Linked DNA regions of Homo sapiens: all the other regions are linked to region 3. The links are contacts of gene promoters, found by promoter capture Hi-C in human tissues and cell types (Jung and others, 2019). All regions are on one chromosome and are shown on one strand. Each heading gives the region's core, a stretch centred on a gene start or on the middle of the fragment in contact. The rest is flanking DNA. Distances are from core to core; before and after follow the strand shown. Region 1 overlaps SOX1-OT (SOX1 overlapping transcript). Region 2 has its middle 7.7 kb from the start of LINC00404. Region 3 holds the start of SOX1 (SRY-box transcription factor 1).

Region 1 (3,442 bases), core at 108-2,607, 45 kb after region 3:
AAAATTACAACATTTTTCACCTATACCTATTGACATTGTTTTGATATTGAACCATGTGAAAACATAACCTATTCTGAAACACACACACTCACGCGTACAGACCACAGTGTAAGCTGGGACAATCGTCTTGACAGCCTGTTTGGCAGGTCAGGCAGACCCTAGAGATGCAGGTCAGGCAGACCCTACAGATTCCAGGTTTAGTTCTAGACCACCACGATAAAGCAAATATCACAGTAAAAGGAGTCACTTGAATGTTTTGGTTTCCCATTGCATATTAAAGCTATGTTTACACTATGCTGTAGTTTATTAAGTGTGTAATTGCATTGTGTCTAAAAAACAATGTACATACCTCAGTTAAAAATACTTTTATTGCTAAAAAATGGTAATGATCATCTTAGCTTGTAACAAATTGTAATCTTCTTTTCTGGTCTTGCCTGAATGTTGATGGCTGCTGACTGATCAGGGTGGTAATTGCTGAAGGTTGAGGTGGTTGTGGCCTCACAAATATTCCTAATACAAGAAAATGAAGTTTGCTGCATTAATTGACTCTTCTTTTTATGAAAGATTTCTCTGTAGCATGTGATGTTGTTTGATAGCATTTTACCAACATAGAACTTCTTTCACAATTGGAGTCAGTCTTCTCCAACCCTGCTGCTGCTTTATCAACTAAATTTGTAGAATATTCTAAATCCTTTGTGTAATTTCAGCAATGTTCATAGCATCTTCATCAGGAGTAGATTCCATCTCAGTAGGCCACTTTCCTTGCTCATCCATAAGGAGCAACTCTTCACCATTCAAGTTTTATCATGAGAGTGCAGCAGTTCAGTCACATCTTCAAGCTCCTCTTCTAATTCTACTTCTCTTGCTATTTCCACCCCATCTGTAGTTCCTTTGTCTACTGAAGTCCTGAACCCTCAAAATCATCCATAAAAGTGGGAATCACCTTCTTCCAAACTCCTGTTAATGCTGACATTTTGACTTCCTTCCATGAATCACAAATGTTCTTAATGGAATCTAGAATGATGAATACTTTCTAGAAGGTTTTCAATGTACTTTGCTCAGATCCACCTGAAGAATCATTATCTATGGCAGCTATAGTCTTATAAAATGTATTTCTTAAATACTAAGACCGAAAAATTAAAATGACCCTTTGATTCATGGGCTTCAGAATGGACGTTATGTTAGCAGGCATGAATACAACATGAATCTCCTTGTACATCTCCATCAGAGCTCTTGAGTAACTTAGATGCATTGTCAATGAGCACTAATATTTTGAAAAAAATCTTTTTTCTGAGCAGTAGGTCTTAACAATGGACTTAAAATATTCAGTAAACCATGCTGTAAACAGACATGCTATCATCTATTCTTTGTTGTTCAACATATACACCACAGAGTAGACTTAGCATAATTCGTAAGGGCCCTAGGATTTTTGGAACGGTAAATCAGAATTGGCCTCAACTTGAAGTCACCAGCTGCATTAGCCTCAGAGAAGAGAGTCAGCCTGGCCTTTGAAGCTTGAAGACAGGCATTGATTTCTCCTCTCTAGCTATGAAAGTCCTAGATGGCATCTTCTTCCAATATAAGGTTGCTTCATCTACATTGAAAATCTGTTGTTAGTCTAACCACCTTCATCAATGATCTTAGCTGGATCTTCTGAATGGCTTGCTGCAGCTTCTCCATCAGCACATGCTGATTCACCTTGCACTTTTATGTTATGGAGATGGCTTCTTTCCTTCAGCCTCATGAACTAAACCCCTGCTAGCTTCCAACTTTTTTTCTGCAGCTTCCTCACCTCTCTCAACCTTCATAGAACTGAAGAGACTTGGGCCTTGCTCTGGATTAGGCTTTGGCTTCAGGGAATGCTGTGGCTGTGGGTCTTCTCTCTAGACCACTCAGACTTTCTCCATATCAGCAGTAAGTGTGTTTTGAATGATAAGCGTTCCTGTGTTCGCTGACTCGCACTTTTCATTTCCTTCGAGAACCTTTCCTTTGCACTTACCACTTGGTTAGCAGTTTGGTGCCACAGACCTAGTTTTTGGCCTATCTCGGCTTTTGACGTTAGCTGAATTATTTAAGCTTATGTCAAACCTCACTAAGCTCAATGATTTTTAGCTTTTAGTTTAAAGTGAAAGATGTACAACCCTTCCTTTCACTTGAACACTTAGAGGCCATTGTTGGGCTATTAAGTGACTTCACTTTTAAATATTGTTTTGCTCTAGGGAATTTGGAGGCCTGAGTAGAGGGAGAGAGACTGGGAACAGCCTGTCGTAGAGGAGTCAGAATACACACACTTATTAAGTTTGCTCCTGTATGGGCATGGTTTATGGTGCCCCAAAATAGTTAACAGTGGTAACGTCAAAGATCATTGATCACAGATCATTGTAACAGATATAATAATAATAATAAAGCTTGAAATATTGCAAGAAATATCAAAATGTGACATGGAGACACAAAGTGAGCACATACTGTTGGAAAAATGGAGCCAAAAGACCTATTCGATGCAGGGCTGCCACAAAACTTCAATTTTTAAAACATGTAATATTTGCAAAATGCAATAAAATGAGATATCCCTGTATTTACTACAAAGCTAAGATAATCCCTCCTAAACCCGGGGATTTATGTAAGAGAAATGAGCACAAACAACTGAAAATAACACAAATAACGTGTTGACAAGAGAATGGCTAAGTAAATTGTGGTATGTTCTTAGAATGGAACACAAGTGAGGAATAAAAAAGAACAAATGATTATTACATTAAACCAACGGATGAATCTCCAACATGCTGAGTTGAAGAAGCCAGGCATGGGTGAGCCTGATTCTGCACACTCTGATTCTGCATGTATGAAGTTCAAGATCAGGGAAAACGAATCATTAGCCATGGAGTGAGCACAGTGGGTTTTTTTTGAGGGGAGTGACAATGAGGGGGAGGGGCAGGAGGGAAGCTTTGTAAAGTGCCGGTGGCTACTGGGGTCTCATCCCGTGCAGACATTTCCAGCAATCATCTACAATTCATGCACTTTGAGACTCTACAGGATGTATAGTATGTTTGGCCTCAATGAAAACATAAAAGAATATGATAGTCTTCCTGAGATGAAACCCTCTCATACTTTATGTCCTGGAAGAGCCCTCTGTCTTCATCACTCTTTTTTGATATTTTATTTTGGAATCATTACCGATTCACAGAAAGTTGCAAAGAAATGCAAAGGGAGGTCCCCTGCGTAACTACAGTATATTATCAATACCAGGAAGTTGAACGTGATAAATCCACAGGGCTTTTTCAGTTTTTGCCAGTTATATAGGCTCTCATGGATGTATGTGTGTGTTTGCACACATGTGCATGTCTACATAGCTCTATGCAATTTTATTTTGTGTGTATCTTTGTGTCACCACAACCACAATCCAGATAGAGAACTTGGTTTCTCGGGCTTCTCCCTTATCCCACAC
Region 2 (3,086 bases), core at 433-2,932, 47 kb before region 3:
TGGCCCAGGCCGCCGTGCAGCTGGTGTGTCCGTAGCCGGGCTGCGTGCTGCCTGCAGGGCCTGAGACTGAGATGCCACACAGAGAAGCTCTGCGGAGTGTCTCCACCTCTCTCCAGGCGGGCACATGAACCAGCCCTGCTCTGCCTTCTGTTCTTCCACCAATTAAATCCAAAGAGGAGAAAACATCCTCTGGAAGAAGATACGTCGTTTCTGCTTGTACAAATGGGATGTAATAGAATTTTCTCAAGGTGTGTGAGCTAACTGCCAAGTCATCAGTATTTCAAAGCTTGTGTTCACAAGGTTTAAAGTGAAAATATTTTTCCAGACCAGAATACAGAATGTACTGAGATGTGTTTTGAAATGCTCTCATTTATTAAGTTTTAATTTCTTTCATTCTTTGAAAAATCAACCAAAAATGTCATCTATAAACACTTAAACATTAAGTATAGATGTATATTTTATTACCCATCATAATGGGAAAAGGATTTTATATTTGATCAAGATATTAATTTTGGCAATTCAATTTTTTCATCAAAAAAGCTCGGAAAATGATTCTTACCCAATGTAGCAAACCTTCTTCTGTGCATGTGGGCCCCATCTGTGCTTCAGAAAGTGCCTCAGTGAATGGCGTTGCACTTGGGCTGTCCTACACCCGCCTTTTCCGTCTCTCACCCATGGCCAGCCCTTCCACTCACTTGGCAGGATCCCACAGTGCCAGCTGCCCCAGGACTCACCTGGCAAAACTCACCCCTGACTCATGGCACTCATCAGCCCTCCACTTCCCGCTGCATGGCTTGAGGAAATCACGCCCTTGCCTCCTTGTTTCACCCGAAAATCATGACCGTCTACTTCCAGGAGGCCAGAGGCTGCTGCCCAAACACGCAGGGTTTCCCCAGGCCATTCACTCCCGGCATCCAAGGACATGGCTCCCTCCGTCTCCAAAGCTGGCCTCCTCCTCATGGCCTTCATCATGTTTCACCCTCAGCCACATGTTCATTCCTCCTTCCTTCGAAAATATCCAGGACACACCCAGCTTGTTCCAGGCACAGAGGCCGAGGATGCAGCATGCACTGCACAGGCAGGAATCCCTCCCGGGTGAAGTGTGGTTCTGGGTGCGGAGACCACACAAAGAAAGCCAAGGAGGGATTTGGCTTGGTCCTGGGGTAAGTGCTACGGAGATGAAAGAAGACGAAAAGAGGTTGGGGCCAATTTAAACAGGCGGTCAGGAGGGCCTCACTGACAAGGTGGCCTCTGAGCAAAGGGCCGATGGTAGGAGGCGAGGAGGTGAGGGGCAGAGTCCTCTGGGGAAACGGAAGCAGCGGTGCCAGAGCCCGTAGTGGGGCAGGAAGCGGTCAAGTGGCTAATGTGGGTTGAGCAGAGGGAAGTGTAAATGGAAAATTCAACCAAAGGGATAACAAGGGGCCAGATAGTGGAGACATTGTGGAAGGTCATACAGGCAGGCCCAGGTGCCATGTGTACCACGCAGGGGCCACTCACCTGTTCCAAGAATCCTGAGTGTGGCCACTCCCCACCTGCTCCAGTGCAGGCATGGATCTCTCTCTCTCCCTGAATGAGTACAGTTGCTAAGACTTTTCTCAAGGGCTGATTCTCATGGACCAAGAGGTGCTTGAAGACTAGGTTCACAGCGGCTGTCATAGTGAGCTGTCCCCACTTGGACCTTACACTGATACATACACCAAGATGCTGCAGGTCACTCAGTGCAGGAGTACTGCACTGAGCAGTATTCCACTGCTCAGAATCACTCCAGAGGTCCTCACTGCCCAGAGAATCAGGTCAGCATTCATGCACCTGCCGTCCAAGGCCCTCCATTGCACAGCCAGATGCTTCTCCTCCAACATGGTTACCCTCTGCTCACATACTCAACAGCGTCTTTGGCTTCAGCCAAGCTGAGGCATGCCCACACTGCAAGCATTCAGGAAAGAAGCCAGTGCAGCCTCTCACTTCCTCTGCCGAGGGACTGCTGCTACCTTCCAATCAGGCCCTCCAGGCAGGGGCTTTGCTTGGAGGCCCTGAGCAGATTCCATCTTCCTCTGGGAACTTTCTCTGACTACCCAGCTCTGAACCATCCTTTCCTCTGCAGAATCATCAAAGCGTCTATTCCTGTAGCTCTGCCCCTTGGTATGGGGCCCACTTTCCCGAAGACGATTTGCTATGTCCTGCCCCGTGCCTCTGTAAATGCTGTTCCCCTGCAAGAAAGTCTTTCCCTTCCTCTCCTCTTTCCTCAAGACTGAGATCCTGGGAAGCGTTCTCTCCTCTCCCAGGAGGAGAGTGCCACTCCTTTCTAAGTGCCCCACTGAATTACCTGTAATTGCAGTTGTCCTGCTGAACAAGTGTTTACTGTCTCTTCGCTACAAGGTTGTAAATTTCATGAGAGCATGATTCATGACCAACGTCTTTACTTCCGTATCCTGCACTTTGCAAAGCACCATAAATATGGTAGATACCTGACAAACATCTACTGCATTGAATTCTTACCCTATCATCTTTTCCTGTCTTATCAAAGAATATAAATTACCGTGTTTGCTTATGAATAATCTCCAGTGAAGGTGTCAGTTAATTTTTTTTGGACTAGAAATAAAAGACCATGCCACAGATCTTCAGAAAGATCCTCCCATGAAAGGAGCTTTGAGGGCCCTTCCCACCCTTGCCTCCACCTTTCCTCTTTAACAGAGAAACACGTGAAATAGACATTTTTAAAAGCCACAAACCTTAGATTTGCTCCGATCAGAGAGGAACCGGGTGTGATGGGCGTCTCAGATCAGAGAGGAGCCGGGTGTGCTGGGCATCTGACTCATGCTCTGTGGCCTCCATCCAGTCCGTCCTCACAAAATGCACAGCGGGAAAGAAGGAATGGACTTAGTTTTCTTCTGGGGAGAAATACGCTTCAGTAGAAGCACTGGAGGGCTTGGAGGAAGGCTCAGTGTGCTGTGTCTGCTTCTGGGATGGTCCTGGGTTTGGTGCATGAGGTAGGCTAGGGTGCTGGCTAGGGTGGTGGGCTAGGGTGGTGGGCCAATGTGGTGGGCTAAGGTGGTGGGCTAGGGTGATGGGCTAGGGTGGTGGGCTGG
Region 3 (3,462 bases), core at 338-2,837:
TGCCGCCGCCGGGTCGCCCCCCTCGCCGGCGGGCAAGTACATGCTGATCATCTCGCGCAGGTCCCCGGGGCACGGCGCCCGCGAGTGCGCTGGGGCGGGCGGGCTGCCGCTGGGCTCCGACTTCACCAGAGAGCCCAGCGCGCCCAGGGCGCCCGACGACGCGGCCGCCGCCGCCGCCGCCGCCGCCACGGCCGAGTTCTGGTGCGCGCCGCCCGCAGCGGCGGCGGCGGCGGCCGCGGCGCCGTAGGGGAGGCCGCCGTAGCCCGAGGGCGACGCGCTCATGTAGCCCTGCGAGTTGGAGATGGGGCTGTACTGCAGCGCGCCCATGTCGTAGCGGTGCATGGGCTGCGGGTTGTGCGGGTGCGCGTGCGGGTGGTGCGGGTGCGGGTGCGCGGGGTGCGCGTGCGGGTGCGCGCCGCCCGCGCCCGGGTGCTGCCCGTAGGCCAGCTGCGCCTCCTGCATCATGGCCGCGGCCGCCGCCGCCGCCGCCACCGAGCCGGGGTAGGCGCCGTTGGCCCAGCCGTTGACGTGCGCGTAGCCGCCGCCCGCCGCGCCGCCTGGGCTCTCCAGGCGCTGGCCCACGGCCGCCGCGCCCACGCCCACGCCCACGCCCATGGCCACAGCCGCGCCGCCGCCACCCGCGCCGGCCGCCAGGAGCCCGCCGGCCAGCGAGTACTTGTCCTTCTTGAGCAGCGTCTTGGTCTTGCGGCGCGGCCGGTACTTGTAATCCGGGTGCTCCTTCATGTGCAGCGCGCGCAGCCGCTTGGCCTCGTCGATGAACGGCCGCTTCTCGGCCTCGGACATGACCTTCCACTCGGCCCCCAGGCGCTTGCTGATCTCCGAGTTGTGCATCTTGGGGTTCTCCTGGGCCATCTTGCGCCGCTGCCCGCGGGACCACACCATGAAGGCGTTCATGGGCCGTTTGACCCGGTCCTGGTTGGCCTTGGCGCCCCCGCCGCCGCCGCCGCCCCCGCCTCCGCCCCCGCCGCCGCCCGCCCCGGCGGGGCCCGAGAGGTTCGTGGGGGCCTGGGCGCCGCCGGGCGAGTGCAGGTCGGTCTCCATCATCATGCTGTACATCGGGGCGGCTGGCGGGTTCACCGGCACCGCGAGGAGAGGGCCTGGAGCATAGACGGCCGGGGTGGGAGGGAGACGGAGAGGAATTCAGACGGAGTGAGACGGGGGCGGGGGGGTCCTAGCGGAGAGAAGAATGGGGAGGGGTGGAGGCAACGACAACAAAAAAAGGCAGAAACACACGCACTCGGCGCCGGTTCGGCTCGCAGGTGGAAAGTTTCTCCTGATGCACAAACCACTTGCCAAAGAGGCCGACGGTCGGGGTCGCCGTCTTCGCCGCCACCGCAGCCCAGGCGCCCTCGGCGGAGCGGTGCAAACAGGTGCAGTCGTGGCCAAGTTGCAGCTCCGCTTTTGGGGCCGGGAGCGGTGCGCTGGGCCCGGCCCGGGGTGTGCTGTCTCCTCGCCGGCCGCCGCTGCGCGCTGTCTCCTTCCTCCTGCGCTCGGTCCTCAGCGGCCTCCAACTCGGAGGCTGCAACTTCTAGCAGGGCGGCGCGCCGCGTGCGCTGGGCATGTGCTGGTCCCAGGTGCCCGGGGGAAGCCAGGCGCCAGTGGCGGGGGGGGGGAGGCGCAGGGGGGCCTGCAGGGGGCGATTACGGTGCAGCCAGGGAGGGGCCCGGGGACAGCGGGAGGAGCGCGGGCTCGCGGAGAGGGCCGGAGAGCCGGGGCCGCCGAGCCCGGGATGGGCTGCCCGCTGCCTGCCCGGGGCCGTGCGCTCGGAGCGGAGGCGCACGCGGGGCCGGCGGCGCGCGGGGCCCAGCAGCCATACGCCGGGCCCGGGCTGCCATTAAATGAGCGCGCCGCGGCCAATGGGAGCCGGCGGCGGCGGTGATTTGCATGGCGCGCTGGCGAGTGACGTGGGGAGGGAGTAGATACACTGGGCGCGGGCGGCGGAGCGGGGAGGAGGGGAGGAAGGAGGGGGAGCAAAGCAGGAAGGAGGGGGGAGGAGGCCCGGGAGGGGGTGACAGCCACACCGCTTCCTGAGCGCGCGCGCGCGGCGGCGGCGGCGGCGGCGAACCCCGAGCTCGCCCTCCTCGCCGCTCCCCGCCCGCGCGTTCCGAATGATTAACGATTGGGTTGAAAAGCGAAGACTAAGAAAGGATCGTCGTGGGGTGGGGGGAGGAAACGCAGCCCCTGGCCAGGTTTAAACGGGCGCAGTGGAGACCCAGCTCCTCCTCTGCCCCCGCCGGCCAACTCTGTGCCTGCAGGGAAGGGGAAAGTTGAGTGCGGGGCTGGCACGTCGCCCTCAGTTCCCCCGAGTGCTGAAAAGGAGGGGCGCTCCCTTGGACGCAGGGGATACCCTCCGAGGGCCCCTGCAGGTTCTCTGCAAGGATCAGGCGGCTCAGCCATCCCCCGCCCTGCATCCGTTCTCGGCCGCGGCGTGCACTGAAGTTCGCCAGTGCCCGCTCTTGCAGCGAAGGCCTTCACAGTCCAGGCCCCACAATTCGGGTAAAGGGGGAGTATTTGTGTGGGCATGGCTCCATAGCTTCGTTTAGTATCAGCCCTAAACTTTTGTGGGGAGGAGTCTTTCAATGAGCCCGGGGCCATAGTCACGCACTCTTCCCAACCCGGATCTTCTTCCTCTGGAAAAGGAATTTCTAGGAAGGCCGAACACAACAAGATCTATCTGGAATCTAGTTCCTGAACAACAGTTGAAAAAGTTTGTTGAATCGCAAAATAATGATATGGCGCACGCTTTTCTGGAGTGAATTTCCCACGAGCTGGTTGCCTAAGAACGGAGAAAACTGCGTGAACTGCGCGGGGCCACATAAACCGAATGAAAGGCGGGGCCTCAGGACGGGTCTCAGCCGCCGGTCTGCGTCATGCAAAGGAAAGGCCTGGCTCGTGGAAAGAGTAAGGCATTCACCTGTGGTTATCATTCTTAAACCTCAAAGTGGCTTTGATTTGGGAACGTGAAAGAGATTTTCAAACGCAGTCTCAAGTAGCATAGCGCTCACACTACCGTTTCCACCAGACTGATCTGAAAGTGGTCCAAAGACGACTTTTGAGCCCAAGTATTCCTCCTCTGCCCTCCCCGAGGCACCCTGAGATGAGAGTGCTTGTGGAGATTGGTGGTGGGTAAAGTAGAACCTTCACCGCATGTCACATGTCTGCCTGTCTTGTAGTAGGAATATTCAGTAAAGATGATGATAACGGTAATAGGAGTAATAGGATGTTTGAGTCTGTTGGGCAGCGAACACGTGACACCTTTTTTTTCCTCTTAAAAAAACTTCTGAGGTTGTGAATTTCTTGACCCTGTTGCTTGTCCAAGGTAAAAGAATAATGCTTTATTTCCTCTCAATTGCTATGATTATTACTGTAGGGTTTGTTTTATTATTGCAGGGTTGCTACAGTGTGAAGTGCAACAGCAAATTGATCTCTCTGCAGATTAAA

Evidence for each region. Contacts are between HindIII fragments. The study calls those that stand out against the background at their distance.
Region 1: a fragment that was not itself captured here is called in contact with the fragment with the promoter of SOX1 in region 3 in 10 of the 25 tissues and cell types used here (H1 embryonic stem cells, dorsolateral prefrontal cortex, liver and 7 more).
Region 2: a contact is called between a fragment that was not itself captured here and the fragment with the promoter of SOX1 in region 3, in 15 of the 25 tissues and cell types used here (H1 embryonic stem cells, IMR-90 fibroblasts, aorta and 12 more).

The regions. Positions count from the first base shown.
Region 1 is chr13:112,019,588-112,023,029 of GRCh38, reverse strand. The region is part of intron 1 of SOX1-OT (SOX1 overlapping transcript); the gene reads right to left. Among named protein-coding and RNA genes, the nearest start is that of SOX1, 46 kb to the left of the region's middle. The HindIII fragment of the contact is 4,707 bases long and covers 1-3,442 here.
Region 2 is chr13:112,112,784-112,115,869 of GRCh38, reverse strand. No RefSeq gene overlaps it. Among named protein-coding and RNA genes, the nearest start is that of LINC00404, 7.7 kb to the right of the region's middle. RefSeq lists an enhancer at 2,659-3,086. The HindIII fragment of the contact is 5,932 bases long and covers 1-3,086 here.
Region 3 is chr13:112,065,274-112,068,735 of GRCh38, reverse strand. It overlaps SOX1 (SRY-box transcription factor 1), which reads right to left and starts at 1,587. Exons shown (of 1, transcript NM_005986.3): 1 at 1-1,587. The coding sequence starts at 1,077. All of the region lies in intron 1 of SOX1-OT (SOX1 overlapping transcript), which reads right to left. The HindIII fragment of the contact is 28,986 bases long and covers 1-3,462 here.